3 separate regions of the Homo sapiens genome follow, and regions 1 and 3 are each linked to region 2. The links are contacts of gene promoters, found by promoter capture Hi-C in blood cells and fetal thymus (Javierre and others, 2016). All regions are on one chromosome and are shown on one strand. The core of a region is centred on a gene start or on the middle of the fragment in contact, and the rest is flanking DNA. Distances in the headings are between cores, read along the strand shown.

Region 1 (4,717 bases), core at 797-3,296, 740 kb after region 2:
CGGGCACAGTGGCTCAGGCCTGTACTCCCAGTACTTTGGGAGGCTGAGGTGGGATGAGCACAGGAGTTTGAGATCAGCCTGGGCAACACAGTGAGACCCGATCTCTACAAAAATTAAAATTAAAAAATTATTCAGGCATGGTAGCGCACACCTGTAGTCCCAGCTACTTGGGAGGCTGAGGCAGGAGGATCCCTTGAGTCCAAGGAGTTTGAGGCTGCAGTGAGCCGTGACTACACCACTGCACTGGGGCCTGAATGACAGAGCAAGACCCTTTCACAAAAAAAAAAAAAAAAATTATTTTGACAGAAACCAGATGACAAATTTTATCTTTAAAGTGCTGAGAGGAAATAATGTGACATTATTCGGGAAAATAATCTTCACAGATGTGATTAAGTGAAGGATCTTGAGATGAGGTCATTCTGGAATCCTGGACTGCCCAGGCTGGCTCTAAATCCAATGACAAGTGTCCTTATAAAAAACACACAGGGCCGGGCACGGTGGCTCAGGCCTGTAATCCCAGCACTTTGGGAGGCCAATCACCTGAGGTCAGGAGTTTAAGACCAGCCTGGCCAACATGGTGAAACCCTATCTCTACTAAAAATACAAAAATTAGTCGGGCGTGGTGGCACGCACCACATACCTGTAATCCCAGCTGCTCAGGAGGCTGAGGCAGGAGAATCACTTGAACTTGGGAGGCAGATGTTGCAGAGAGCCAAGATCACGCCACTGCACTCCAGCCTGGGTGACAAGAGTGAGACTTCGTCTCAAAACAAACACACAAAAGACACACAGGAGAGGATGTGACCATGGAGGCAGAAATGGGAGTGATGCAGCCACAAAGCCACATGCTAAAGACTGCAGACAGCCACCAGAAACTAGAAGATGCAAGGAATGGATTTTCCTCTGGGCCTGCACTAGGAGTACAGACCTGCCAACGCCTTGATTTCGAACCTCTGGGACTACATCTCTATGGCTTTAACCCACCAAGTTTGTGGTTACCTGTTATAGCAGCCACAAAAAAAACAAACACACCCGGCAAAAGAATGCCTCAAAAGAAAAGCAAAATAAAGACAATTTCACAAAACAAAATTCACTAACAGACTTGTGGTTTAAAAAAAAAAATGTGGCTCGGAGCAGTGGCTCACGCTTGTAATCCCAACACTTTGGGAGGCCGAGGTGGGAGGATCACCTGAGGTCAGGAGTTCTTGATCAGCCTGGCCAATATGGCAAAAACCCATCTCTACTAAAAATACAAACATTAGCTGGGCATGGTGGCAGGCGCCTGTAATCCCAGCAACTCAGGAGGCTGAGGCAGGAGAATCACCTGAACGCGGGAGGCAGAGGTTGCAGTGAGCCAAGATCACGCCATTGCACTCCAGCCTGGGCAACAAGAGTGAAACTCTGTCTCAGAAAAAAAAAAAATGTTGAGAGTTGTTCAGATAAAGGTCAATGACTCCAGAGAGAAACATGTAAATAGAGAAAGCAATGAAGAGCACCAAAAACAGTAAATGTGTGAATAAATATAAATGGCTGTTGATTGCACAAAATTAAAACAGTAACGTCTTTTTTTTTTTTTGAGACAGAGTCTCGCTCTGTCACCAGGCTGGAGTACTGTGACACAAGTAATATCTTAAGGTAAGGCAACAACAGAAAAAGAGGGGCTCACGCTTATAATCACAGCACTTTGGGAGGCTCAGGAGAGCGGATCACTTGAGGTCTGCAGTTCGAGACCAGCCTGGCTCACACAGTGAACAAAAAATTAGCTGGGCATGGTGGCATGCATCTGTAATCCCAGTTACTCGGGAGGCTGAGGCTGGAGAATCGCTTGAACCCGGGAGATGGAGGTTGTAGTGAGCTGAGATCGTGCCACTGCACTCCAGCCTGGGCAACAGGGCAAGACGGTCTCAAAAAAATAAAAATAAAAGAGGTATAATCTTTATAATAAGCACTAAAAGAATAGTAAAAGAATTTTTTTTTTGAGACAGAGTCTTGCTCTGTCGCCCAGGCTGGAGTGCAGTGGCACGATCTCAGCTCACTGCAAGCTCCACCTCCCGGGTTCACGCCATTCTCCTGCCTCAGCATCCTAAGTAGCTGGAGATACAGGCGCCCGCCACCATGCCTGGCTAATTTTTTTTTGTATTTTTAGTAGAGACGGGGTTTCAGTGTTAGCCAGGATGGTCTCGATCTCCTGAACTCATGATCTGCCTGCCTCGGCCTCCCAAAGTGCTGGGATTACAGGCATGAGCCACTACACCCAGCCTGTCACTCCTTTTCTTACAGTTTCTCTACTCAGCCCTTCTGGAGAAGAGCTCCAGATGTTTCTTTACTGTTCTGTTTTCCTCCCTTTCCTTATGTTGCATTCTGGTTCTCTCTTAACCAGTGTCTTGTCTTGATATTAACCTGAAATTTGTTCATATGCCATTTTGTTTCATTTCTTAAAGTTCCAGCTAGTTCTTTTTTCTCAGCATCTTGTTCCCCTCTTATGTTTCTGATTCTTTCTTTTATATCTGCAATTCTTCTAAACTTGGCTATGTGACATAGCATCTACCTGATGGTTCTTCTCCTGCAGTCTGTCATGGCTGGTGCCTCTTACTTGATGGGAGGCATCCCATGCTAGCAGGCAGAACTTTGCCTGCAGGAAGCCCACGCAACCTGGGTTGTGAACATATGCCCCCACAGCAGTTCTGCATTCGCTGCTGTCAGGAGCCCCAGGAGTAACCAAGCCTGGAGACTATTTTTACGTTAATTTCTCAACTTCTGAACCCCTGGGGAGTATAATACAAGCTAGAGCCCCAAACATCTCTGAATGCTTACAAAGTCTTAGTAAAGATCTCCCGCTTCTCAGAGCCCAAGCATATAAACTTCCTTATGGGGCCACTGGACGACTAGACTGTTTAGTCTATCTCTTTGCTGAGAGTATCACCCTCCAGAGGGACGAGAATGACTGATAAGAAGTCTCACTCTCATTCCCTGTCGCAAGGGTCCTAATACTCAATCTCTATCCCCATGTGGGTTGTTAAAACCCACAAATAGCACATGTGCCCAGGACAGGCACGACATTAGTTCAAAGGCCAAGTTAGCTGGGTTTAACATGGCCTTCACATTTGACCCCAGATATCTCTCTTACCTCCTGCAAGTTCAGTTATACATTTGTAAAATGTTTTATTTCACTTTCTGAGAGTCTTAGCAACAAAGTTTTGGGGTTATCTCTTCTACCATATTATCAAAACCCAAAATGAAACTGTATCATTATAAATAACTACTCCTTGTGCAAAGTCACCGAAGGGAACAACCATTTGCTATTTTTGACCAACCAGCTCCTATCCCCTCAATATCCATTTCGCTGCAACCCTCACTTGCAGTCCATATTTGACTAGCTGACTCCACTAAAGGGATGTGGATCAGGCCTAAGTCAATCAGCAGACTCCCCTTTGTGGCCCAGGGATGGATGCTGAGTTTAATCAGAACAAAGCCCAGGACTGGTTTGAATAGAGAACAAGCAGTCCCATCAGGCTTTCCTGTAGAGTGGAGGTAAAGAGGCTCTTAGTGAGGGACTACTGGGAGGGGCCTGAACTTCAGAGACCACAATGAGAAGGAGTGGGACCTGTGACCAACACTAAGTTAATACTGAGGAAGCGAAGCTGAGACCAGGAGGTAGAGAAACTAGATCCTGGTCCCAACTGCTGGAGCCACTAGATCAAGTTTTGACCAAATCCAGTCCTATCATTTGATTTTTCACTTCCAGGTATTTTCTTTCTTGTCTAAGCCACTTTGAGCTGCGTTTGTCAATAGAAAGCATTCTTAGTGACATGAAAATATACCAAGTATTCAAAGTTCAAAAATGAAAACAAAATTTTACTTACTTACCTGGATAACCAATTCCTTTGGCATTTGCATAGGGAACCCCAGAAGATCCAGGACTATAAACAGGATTCATGATTTCAAAAACTAAAAGAAAAAAAAGGGAATTTAGCCAAGCACTTTTGCTCTCAGATTTTTCTCCAGTACCAGTCCCCAAAAAGCAGGTAGCTAGAGTCCTTTCTCTAGGCTGCTATAAAACAATGCATTTCATGCTGCCCCCAACCAGCGAAGAACAGAAAAGGGACACTCGATGTCCTAATGGGTGCCAAACCAGGGCATGATAAACTTTTTTTCACAATTCTCCTCAGTCCATCAGAAGCTAAGGAGTAAAAATTGTTAGCTATATGTCCACTAAAAGCAAGGGGAAAGGCCAGGTACGGTGGTGCACTCCTGTAATCCCAGCACTTTGGGAGGCCGAGGTGGGCAGATCACCTGAGGTCAGGAGTTTGAGACCAGCCTGGCCAACATGGTGAAACCCCATCTCTACTAAAAATACAAAAATTGGCCAGGCATGGTGGCTCGTGCCTGTAATCTTAGCACTTCGGGAGGCTGAGGTGGAGGAATCATGAGGTCAGGAGACCAAGACCATCCTGGCCAACATGGTCAAACTCCGTCTCTACTAAAAATACAAAAATTAGCTGGGTGTGGTGGCGCGTGCCTGTAATCCCAGCTACTCAGAACGCTAAGGCAGGAGAATCGCTTGAACCAGGTAGTCGGAGGTTGCAGTGAGCCAATATTGCACCACTGCACTCCAGCCTGGCGACAGAGCGAGACTCCGTCTCAAAAAAACAAAACAAAACAAAACAAAAACAAACAAAAATTAGCCAAGTGTGGTGACGCACACCTGTAATCCCAG
Region 2 (4,205 bases), core at 657-3,156:
GAGGACTCCGGTTCTGGGGTCTTAGTGGGGCCCTTGCGCCTCCGCAGACCTGAGGAAAGAAAGGTTGGAGGAGGCTGGGATCTTACTCCCTGACCTTTATCATCTTGGTGACAATGTTGAGCTTGATCTGAGCTCATGATTCTATAAAACACTGTTGGTTGGAAAATTCCAACTTTGGGGTTCCAGGAAACAGCTTACCACAAAACACAGCCTTTCCCCTTGTGATTCAGATGAGACTGTTTGTCCACTCTTTCCCGTGACTCCTGTAAGACCCACTGATGACCCTGTTTGCCTGTGACACTGATCTTACCCATTGTACCTGAACATGCCAACAGACCAGACATAGACGTTCCAACTCCCCATTCTTTGTCTCAGGATGATTAACTGGGATTAGAAGTTTGTCCCTCTGAAACTAGCTAGACACACAGATAAATATTTTCTGTTCAGCTGACTGAAATGTATGTGATTGTAAATCTATTCCCAGTGTAAAGCAACTCACCAACAATTTCTCTACTTCCTATAAAAGTCTAAGGCAAAACCACCCTACAAAAACATTCTGTTCTTCTGCTCTGGGATGCTCTCTCTTATCGCAAAAACCTAATTTAAATCATCTCCATAATTTGCATTTTGTCTTTGACACTGGGAAGGGGTTCTGCAGAAGGAAGAGGGGGCTCACCTGCTTCGCGAGGCCCCACCTCCTCTGGGGCGTGGACACCAGCTCTCACCACCTTGAACTTCTGGAGTCCCTCCTGGGCCTCGCTGAAGGACGAGAAGGGAGGATGGAGCTTTGGCAGCCCGGGCCTAGAACGCGCCCGCCCGCCCACCCAGCCCAGCATGGAAGCTTCCTCACCTGGCGTGGAGGCAGACCTGGGGCTCCATGTGGGAAGCATACTGCAGGGGCCCTACCGACTTGGCGCCCATCGCGTAGCGAGCCTTGGCGAGCGAGAGCCAGCCCTGCAGGGAGAGGAAAGCGGTGAGACTCAGTTTACGCCCGTGTACCCTCCTGCCCGCCCCAGGCGCCTACCTCCTCCACCCGGGCGTTCAACACCGTTCGTTTCCCCTCCAGCTCCTCCAGGTCCCCAAGCAGCTGCAGGACCAGCGAATCCAGCTCCGCTCGCAGGTCAAGCGCCGCCATGGACACACCTCCAGATCTGGAGCCACCTTCTTCCTTGTCACCCTCCGCAGTTTGGCAGGACAGCCAATAGGCACACGAGATCCTCCATCAAGGGGCGTTCCCATCTGGGGATCCCCACGCCGGCAGCACCAAGGCCTCTGGGTCAGCTTCTTTAAGGGCAAGCGCCCTTAGAGAAGCAGCACGGAAGCAACCAATCAACTGGTTTCTCCAATTAGCCCCCAAGTGGATCAGCCTGCTGAACTGTCGGCTAGGGTTATAGGTGGTTCTGAGTCCTTCCGGAAGCTGCCGAATCTTAGAAGTCGCGCCACTGTTGTGGCGATGGAAGAAGGCGAAGCTCTACAGAAACCATTTTGGTTGAGGGAAGAGTGGTTTTAAAGTTAATTTGGAAAGGAGCCGGCAAGCAACCTTCAGTCGGTGTGCGGTTTTTACAGTTGAACTGTTTCCAGCCGCTAATTATGATTGTTTTAGCGGTTCGTCATCTGAAAACTGCATTCTGCACGGCGGTGGTGGGGGGAGGACGAGGATGGAGAAGCCTGGGCGGACATATTTATTAGCTGCGGTCCTAAGTCACGTGTGACATTCTGTATCCAGTCTATCGGTTATCCCAAGGAGAACGCCCTGCCGGAATGGCCAATCGCCTTGAGATGTCCCCGCCCTATTCGCCATCTTAACATAGGGCATTCCCCACAGCTGCAGGCACCAGTGAAGCGTCTAAGGGACCATCTTGGTTGAGGGCGGAAGTGAGGACTGTGTCGCGCTGGAGGAGCCCACAGATTCTCCCGGACCCACGTGGAAGCGGCACTCAAGATGGTAGGAGAATGAGCTCCTGTTTCGGAGGTCCGGGGCGCGTGAAGTGCTGGGGATGTGGCTCTGGGGACTTGGAGGCTCAGCGGCTCCGGGGCTCCGGGGTTCCGGGGCTCGGGAGCGAGTAGTGAGTGACTGGGCCTGCTGTTCCCACAGCTGCGCCGCGAGGCCCGCCTGCGCCGCGAGTACCTGTACCGCAAGGCCCGGGAGGAGGCGCAGCGCTCAGCCCAGGAGAGGAAGGAGCGGCTGCGGCGCGCGCTGGAAGGTAAGGCATCGGCCCCGCGGGCGTCTGCGTGGTAAACCACCCCGGCACGCATTTGTGTTCGAATATCCGAGCGTCTTTCCAAATGCTTGCCGGCCGTTTTCCTTGCCCATTGGGTTCTCCTGTTGGTTTTGAGAGTGTTTCTTCCGTGTGATGGTATTAATTACTTGTCACTGACGTTGCAGTACCCGGGTTTTGCAGCTTGCCCGCTGTGTGCAGTGTGTCAAGTTCGTCCCAAGTTTTAAAGACTTTATCTTGTCCTGTAGAAATTCTCTTTAGAGCGGTGGCTCACTGCTGTAATCCCAGCACTTTGGGAGGCCGAGGCGGGCGGATCATGAGGTCAGGAGTTCGAGCCTGACCAACATGGTGAAATCTCGTCTCTACTAAACATACAAAAATTAGCCGGCCGTGGTGGCACGCGCCTGTAATCCCAGCTACTCAGGAGGCTGAGGCAGGAGAATCGCTTGAACCCGGGAGGCGGAGGTTGCAGTGAGCCGAGATCCTGCCACTGCACTCCAGCCTGGGCAAAAAAGCAAGACTCCGTCTCAAAAAAAAAAAAAAAAAGAAATTCTCTCTAAAGACTATCTGGATAGCGCTGGTGCTGCAGACTGCGCTGCCCATCCTCCCTGCAGGAGTTCCTCTGAGCTCCGTGGGGAACAGTGCTGGCCCCGAGTGCGCACCTGGAGCGCTGTGCTCTGCGGTAGGCAGCCTGTGGTCCAGGGCCCGCTGAAGCCATGCCTTCGAAGCGCTGTGGGCATCGTGACCAACGGTTTTGCTGTCTGAGAGCTTAAAGGTCTCTGGTCCACCATCATACGTACAGAACAGTCTATATTTCTTTTCAAAAGTAATTTTTAAGGCCGAGCGCTGTGGCTCACGCCTGTAATCCCAGCACTTTGGGAGGCCGAAGCGGGTGGATCACGAGGTCAGGAGATCGAGACCATCCTGGCTAACACGGTGAAACCCCGTCTCTACTAAAAATATAAAAAATTAGCCGGGCGCCGTGGCGGGCTCCTGTAGTCCCAGCTACTCGCCAGCCTGAGGCAGGAGAATGGCGTGAACCCAGGAAGCGGAGCTTGCAGTGAGCCGAGATGGCACCACTGCACTGCTCTGCCTGGGTGACAGAGCGAGACTCCGTCTCAAAAAAAAAAAAAATCGATGTTTAGATTTCTACCTGATTATAAAAGCAATACAGTACATTAAGATATTTTAGAAAGTCCTCAAGTCATGAGACTAAAGAAAATGAAGTCCTAGTAACCACTGTTTATGGGGGTTGGCCTGTAGAAAGTTTTGTCACCTCTATCCATGCTTTATCCAAGCTCAGAAAGGGCTGAGGTATTTTTATTTCAAGCATGTGCAGGCTAATAAGCTGTGGTGTATTGGATGAGCTGAGGTCTCCATGCTTGTGACTCACTCAGCCCCTCTCTCTTCCCTCTGCAGAAAACCGCCTGATTCCCACTGAGTTACGCCGAGAGGCTCTGGCCTTACAGGGGTCCCTGGAGTTTGATGATGCTGGAGGTGAAGGTAACTATACAAGGTAGCCCTCCCCAACACTGAGCTGGCAGGTCTCCAGTCCTTCCTCAGACACACCGGGCACCATCCCATCAGAGGAAACTGCTCCTGGAACTGTCCCCCATGCCCTTGTCACTGCACAGATGGCATTGCAGGGCTCTCCCTGAGTGTGCCCTGTCCCACTTACATGGCACACATGGGAGTGCCTCACTGACTCTGCACCTGGCTTGTTAATTACCTCCCCCACTGGAGTGCCTGCTGGGGAAAGACAGTGTCCCTCACACATTATTGGTGCCCATACGTTTATTCACTGCATTATTCAAGAAACAAGAAAGGAATCCCAAACATTATAGATATTTGTTACGAGGGAAAAGAGTTTGTCACCGTTGGCCTTAGCAGAGTGTGGATTTCGTTGTGTAATGGAGTAGCTGCTTAGCCCCATGTGACTAATATAGCTTAAGCAAACTACAATTAAACAAAAGATTCTGTTTCTCA
Region 3 (4,313 bases), core at 1,738-4,237, 760 kb after region 2:
GGGTGACAGAGCGAGACTCCATCTCAAAAGCAAACAAACAAACAAACAAACAAACAAAAAACAAAGTATTTGGGGTTGAGGGCTTCGGATTCAAAATGGGAGGCCAAGAACTCATTTTGTCCCTCCATAGATGCCTGTGAAATAGGTGACAGATGTTCAACAGTAAACAAGAAACACTCCAAACTGAAGTAGCAGTAGAGGCTCAGGTGGGCTGGAGGAGAAAGGGCACTCACTTTCCTGTGGATGGTTGAAATAGGCAGAAAAGGCTGCAATCCAAAGCAGGGAGTGAAGGGGGAGAGAAACAGACCTGTAAACAAGGACATTAACTGCAAGGCTGCCTGTACCACAGCTGTGCCCCTTTTTATTTCTCCATTCTTGTGTACATGGGCAGCTTCCTGTTTATAGTGGGCAAAACCCCAACTACTATCCTCAAAAGAAATGGATTCCACTGTCTTTGGCCGGGCGTGGTGGCTCATGCCTGTAATTCCAGCACTTTGGGAGGCCGGGGCAGGCGGATCACCTGAGGTTGGGAGTTCGAGACCAGCCTGACCAACCTGGAGAAACCCCGTCTCTACTAAAAATACAAAATTAGTCGGGTGTCGTGGTGGGTGCTTGTAGTATCAGCTGCTTGGGAGGCCGAGGCAGGAGAATCGCTTGAACCTGGGAGGCGGAGGTTGTGGTGAGCCAAGATCGAGCCATTGCACTCCAGCCTGGGCAACAAGAGTGAAACTCCGTCTCAAAAAAATAAAAAAAAGAAAGAAAGAAATGGATTCCACTGTCTGAAGAAAGCCATGGCTTCTTAGTAGATGTTGAGGGCAAAATGAAGTAAAATTTAGGCATGCAAAAACTCATTGTTTCCCACCCCAAAAAGCAGTTACAAAGTTTCCGTATAGGAGAAGCAAAGGTGCAGCCAGCATGCTGGAACGGCTTCCTGCGCTGCACTCTGCATTGCTTGCCCCTGCTCTTCTCCCTAGTGCTGTGTGTCTGTTTGGGATGGACCTGGGTGTTGGTAAACATTGTGGGGCAGCTGAAATCCTACTGTTCCACCCTGGCTACTTTTATACATATAAAAAATTTCGGCCGGGCGCTGTGGCTCACGCCTGTAATCACAGCAATTTGGGAGGCTGAGGCGGGCGGATCACGAGGTCAGGAGATGGAGACCATCCTGGCTAACATGGTGAAACTCCGTCTCTACTAAAAATACAAAAAATTAGCCGGGCGTGGTGGCGGGTGCCTGTAGTCCCAGCTACTTGGGAGGCTGAGGCAGGAGAATGGCGTGATCCTGGGAGGTGGGGCTTGCAGTGAGCCGAGATCCCGCCACTGCCCTCCAGCCTGGGCGACAGAGCGAGACTCCGTCTCAAAAAAAAAAAAAAAAAACACAAAGAAAGAAAAAGTAAAGGAAGAGTGCCTGTTATCTCCTATTCCTTGGAAGCTCCACATTCCCAATTATGTGGGGTGTAGCAGGGGAGACATGGTATTTTACTTCATGTTCTATTTGGAGTTTTTTTTTTAAATTTACTTATGTTTTTGTATATTTTGTTTTACTATGTTGTCCAGGTTGGTCTTGAACTTTTGGCCTCAAGTGATCCTCCTGCCTCGGCCTTCCAAATGTTGGGATTTCAGGTGTGAGCTAATGTGCCTGGCCTGGAATTTCTTTTTTAACCACCAGAACTTCTCACTTTATTTTCTTCAATAAAGAAACGCATACTAGTAACTGGGCAAGAAATGGAGTGGGGCTTAGCAGCAGGTAATTTGGTTTGAGCCAGTTGAGGGCCACAGAGACAGGTGACTGATGGGTACAGAGTCCCAATGCAACTCTTTGAACTCTTGGACTTCTCCCTCTCAGTTTCAGACAAGAGGCTGCACATTCAGATAGGGGGCTGGAAAGCAGGCGTCCTCACCTGCACCCAGCCTTCTTTCCCCTGGCCTCTTCTCAATAAACATGAACAGGAAGCCAGTTTTTCTTTTCTTTCTTTTTTTTTTTTTTTTTTCTGAGTTGGAGTTTCACTCAGTCGCCCAGGCTGGAGTGCAGTGGCACAATCTCAGCTCACTGCAACCTCCGCCTCCTGGGTTCAAGCTATTCTCCTGCCTCAGCCTCCCAAGTAGCTGGGATTACAGGTGCCCGCCACCACGCCTGGCTAATTATTTTGTATTTTTAGTAGAGATGGGGTTTCACCACGTTGGCCAGGCTGGTCTCGAACTCTGGACCTCGAGCGATCTGCATGCCTCGACCTCCCAAAGTGCTAGGATTACAGGCGTGAGCCACCACGCCCAGCCCAGAAAGCCAGTTTTACTGAATCAGAAAACTTGTTATGGGACACTCCCTCCTCCAGGTACTGGAACGCCTACTTAAACTGAACTTTATTAAAATATTACTTTTTTTTTGTCTGGGTGCAGTGGCTTACGCCTGTAATCCCAGCATTTTGGGAGGCCGAGGCAGGTGGATCACGAGGTCGGGAGTTTGAGACCAGCCTGGCCAACATGATGAAACCCTGTCTCTACTAAAAATACAAAATAAATAGCTGGGTGTGGGGGCGCACACCTGTATTCCCAGCTACTCAGGAGGCTGAGGCAGAATAATTGCTTGAACCCAGGAGGCGGAGGTTGCAGTGAGCCTAGATGGTGCCACTGTCCACCAGCCTGGGTGACAGTGAGACTCCATCTCAAAAAAAAAATTATTATTATTTTGAGGCAGGGTCTCATTCTTTTGCTCAACCTGGAGTGCAGTGACACAATCATGGCTCACTGCACCCTTGACCTCCCGGATTCTAGTGAAGCTTCCCTCTCAGCCTCTCAAGTAGCTGGGACTACAGATGCATGCCACCATGCCAGTCTAATTTTTTTATTTTTATTTTTTTGTAGAGAAAGTGTCCCACTGTGTTGCCCAAGCTGGTCTTGAACTCCTGGGCTCAAGTAATTCTCCTGTCTTGGCCTCCCAAAGTGCTGGGATTATAGACGTGAGCCATCACACCCAGCCTTAAATATTACTTTTTCCTGTTGTTGAAGTGATACATATTCATGAAAGAAAACTTGGAAAATGCAGAAAAGTAGAAAAAAGAAATGTCATCCACAGTCCCATCACTCAGAGAGAATGTGTTAGTGTATTTTTGGATACTCCAAACTCAGACCCTGAAAGGTCCCTAAGACTGACCCTGAAGGTGGTCAGGGCTAGTATAGCCTTAATGAGGGCTGGTCAAGAAGCTTGTTGATGTCAGGCAATTTACCCGAGCTCATCCAGAAGCAGCGGAACCAGGAAGAACCCCATGTCACACAAATCTCTGAACTCTTGTGTTGACTAAGCTATAATATCTTGCAAAAGATGGGATTGCAGGCATCATAGGACTCCCTACCCTGCATTTTTTAAATTTTCCCCAGAGAGGAGCTGGGTTAAGACAGGGGCCCTGATTGGCAGAGTTTGGGGTTTTGAAGACCAATAATAATAGGGCTCTTCCAATATTTTTTTTAAGAGTTTTTCCCTTTTAAATTTAGATATAATTTATACACAGAAAAATGTACAAATCTTTTTTTTTTTTTTTTTTTTTTTTAGATGGAGTCTCTCTGTCGCCTAGGCTGGAGTGCAGTGGCGTGATCTCGGCTCAGTGCAACGTCTGCCTCCCGGGTTCACACCATTTTCCTGCCTCAGCCTCCCAAGTAGCTGGGACTACCGGCGCCCGCCACCACGCCTGGCTAATTTTTGTATTTTTAGTCTCTGAGTATCTGGGATTACAAGCGCACCACCAGGCCTGACTAATTTTTTTTTGTATTTTTAGTATGGACGGTGTTTCACCACGTTGGTCAGGCTGGTCTCAAACTCCTGACCTCGTGATCTGCCTGCCTCGGCCTCCCAAAGTGCTGGGATTACAGGCGTGAGCCACTGTGCCCGGCCAAAAATGTACAAATGTTAAGTATAGTGTTCAGCTTGATAAAGTTTTACTTACACACACGTACCCACCACTCAGATCAATGTATAGAACATTTTCAGCACCCTAGGAGTGGGGTTGCCAGGAGGCTCTCTCAAGCCTCTTTCCAGGCAGTACCCCTACACCACCCCCCAACCCCTGCTAGGCTGGAACGCAGTGGCTTGATTGCAGGTCAAACTTCTGGGCTCAAGCAATCCTCCTGCCTCTGGCTCGCAAAGCTCTGGGATTACTGGCATGAACCATCTCACCTGGCTAACATTTATTTTCCCTCTATTGTCTTCAGAAAACCCCCAACTTTTCATCTGGAATAATTTTAGACTACAAAAAAGTTATAAAGCTAGTATACCCTTCACACAATTTCTCCTAATGTTAACATCTTACATAACCATTATA

What was found. The method cuts DNA at HindIII sites, captures the fragments that hold promoters and counts their contacts. A CHiCAGO score of 5 or more calls a contact.
Region 1: a fragment that was not itself captured here is called in contact with the fragment with the promoter of IMP4 in region 2 in 1 of 17 cell types (non-activated CD4 T cells); the score reaches 5.1 in non-activated CD4 T cells.
Region 3: a fragment that was not itself captured here is called in contact with the fragment with the promoter of IMP4 in region 2 in 3 of 17 cell types (non-activated CD4 T cells, total CD8 T cells and activated CD4 T cells); the score reaches 8.5 in non-activated CD4 T cells.

Annotation. Positions count from the first base shown.
Region 1 is chr2:131,078,710-131,083,426 of GRCh38, forward strand. It overlaps FAM168B (family with sequence similarity 168 member B), which reads right to left. Exons shown (of 7, transcript NM_001009993.4): 2 at 3,868-3,948. The coding sequence starts at 3,937. Among named protein-coding and RNA genes, the nearest start is that of FAM168B, 12 kb to the right of the region's middle. The HindIII fragment of the contact is 8,121 bases long and covers 1-4,717 here.
Region 2 is chr2:130,340,991-130,345,195 of GRCh38, forward strand. It overlaps IMP4 (IMP U3 small nucleolar ribonucleoprotein 4), which reads left to right and starts at 1,907. Exons shown (of 9, transcript NM_033416.3): 1 at 1,907-1,945; 2 at 2,096-2,204; 3 at 3,639-3,722. The coding sequence starts at 1,943. VMA22 (vacuolar ATPase assembly factor VMA22) reads right to left here and starts at 1,174. Exons shown (of 5, transcript NM_032357.4): 1 at 1,025-1,174; 2 at 851-954; 3 at 677-759; 4 at 1-49. The coding sequence starts at 1,135. RefSeq lists enhancers at 1,090-1,639, 1,770-1,939. The HindIII fragment of the contact is 8,635 bases long and covers 840-4,205 here.
Region 3 is chr2:131,100,056-131,104,368 of GRCh38, forward strand. No RefSeq gene overlaps it. Among named protein-coding and RNA genes, the nearest start is that of PLEKHB2, 3.1 kb to the right of the region's middle. The HindIII fragment of the contact is 424 bases long and covers 2,776-3,199 here.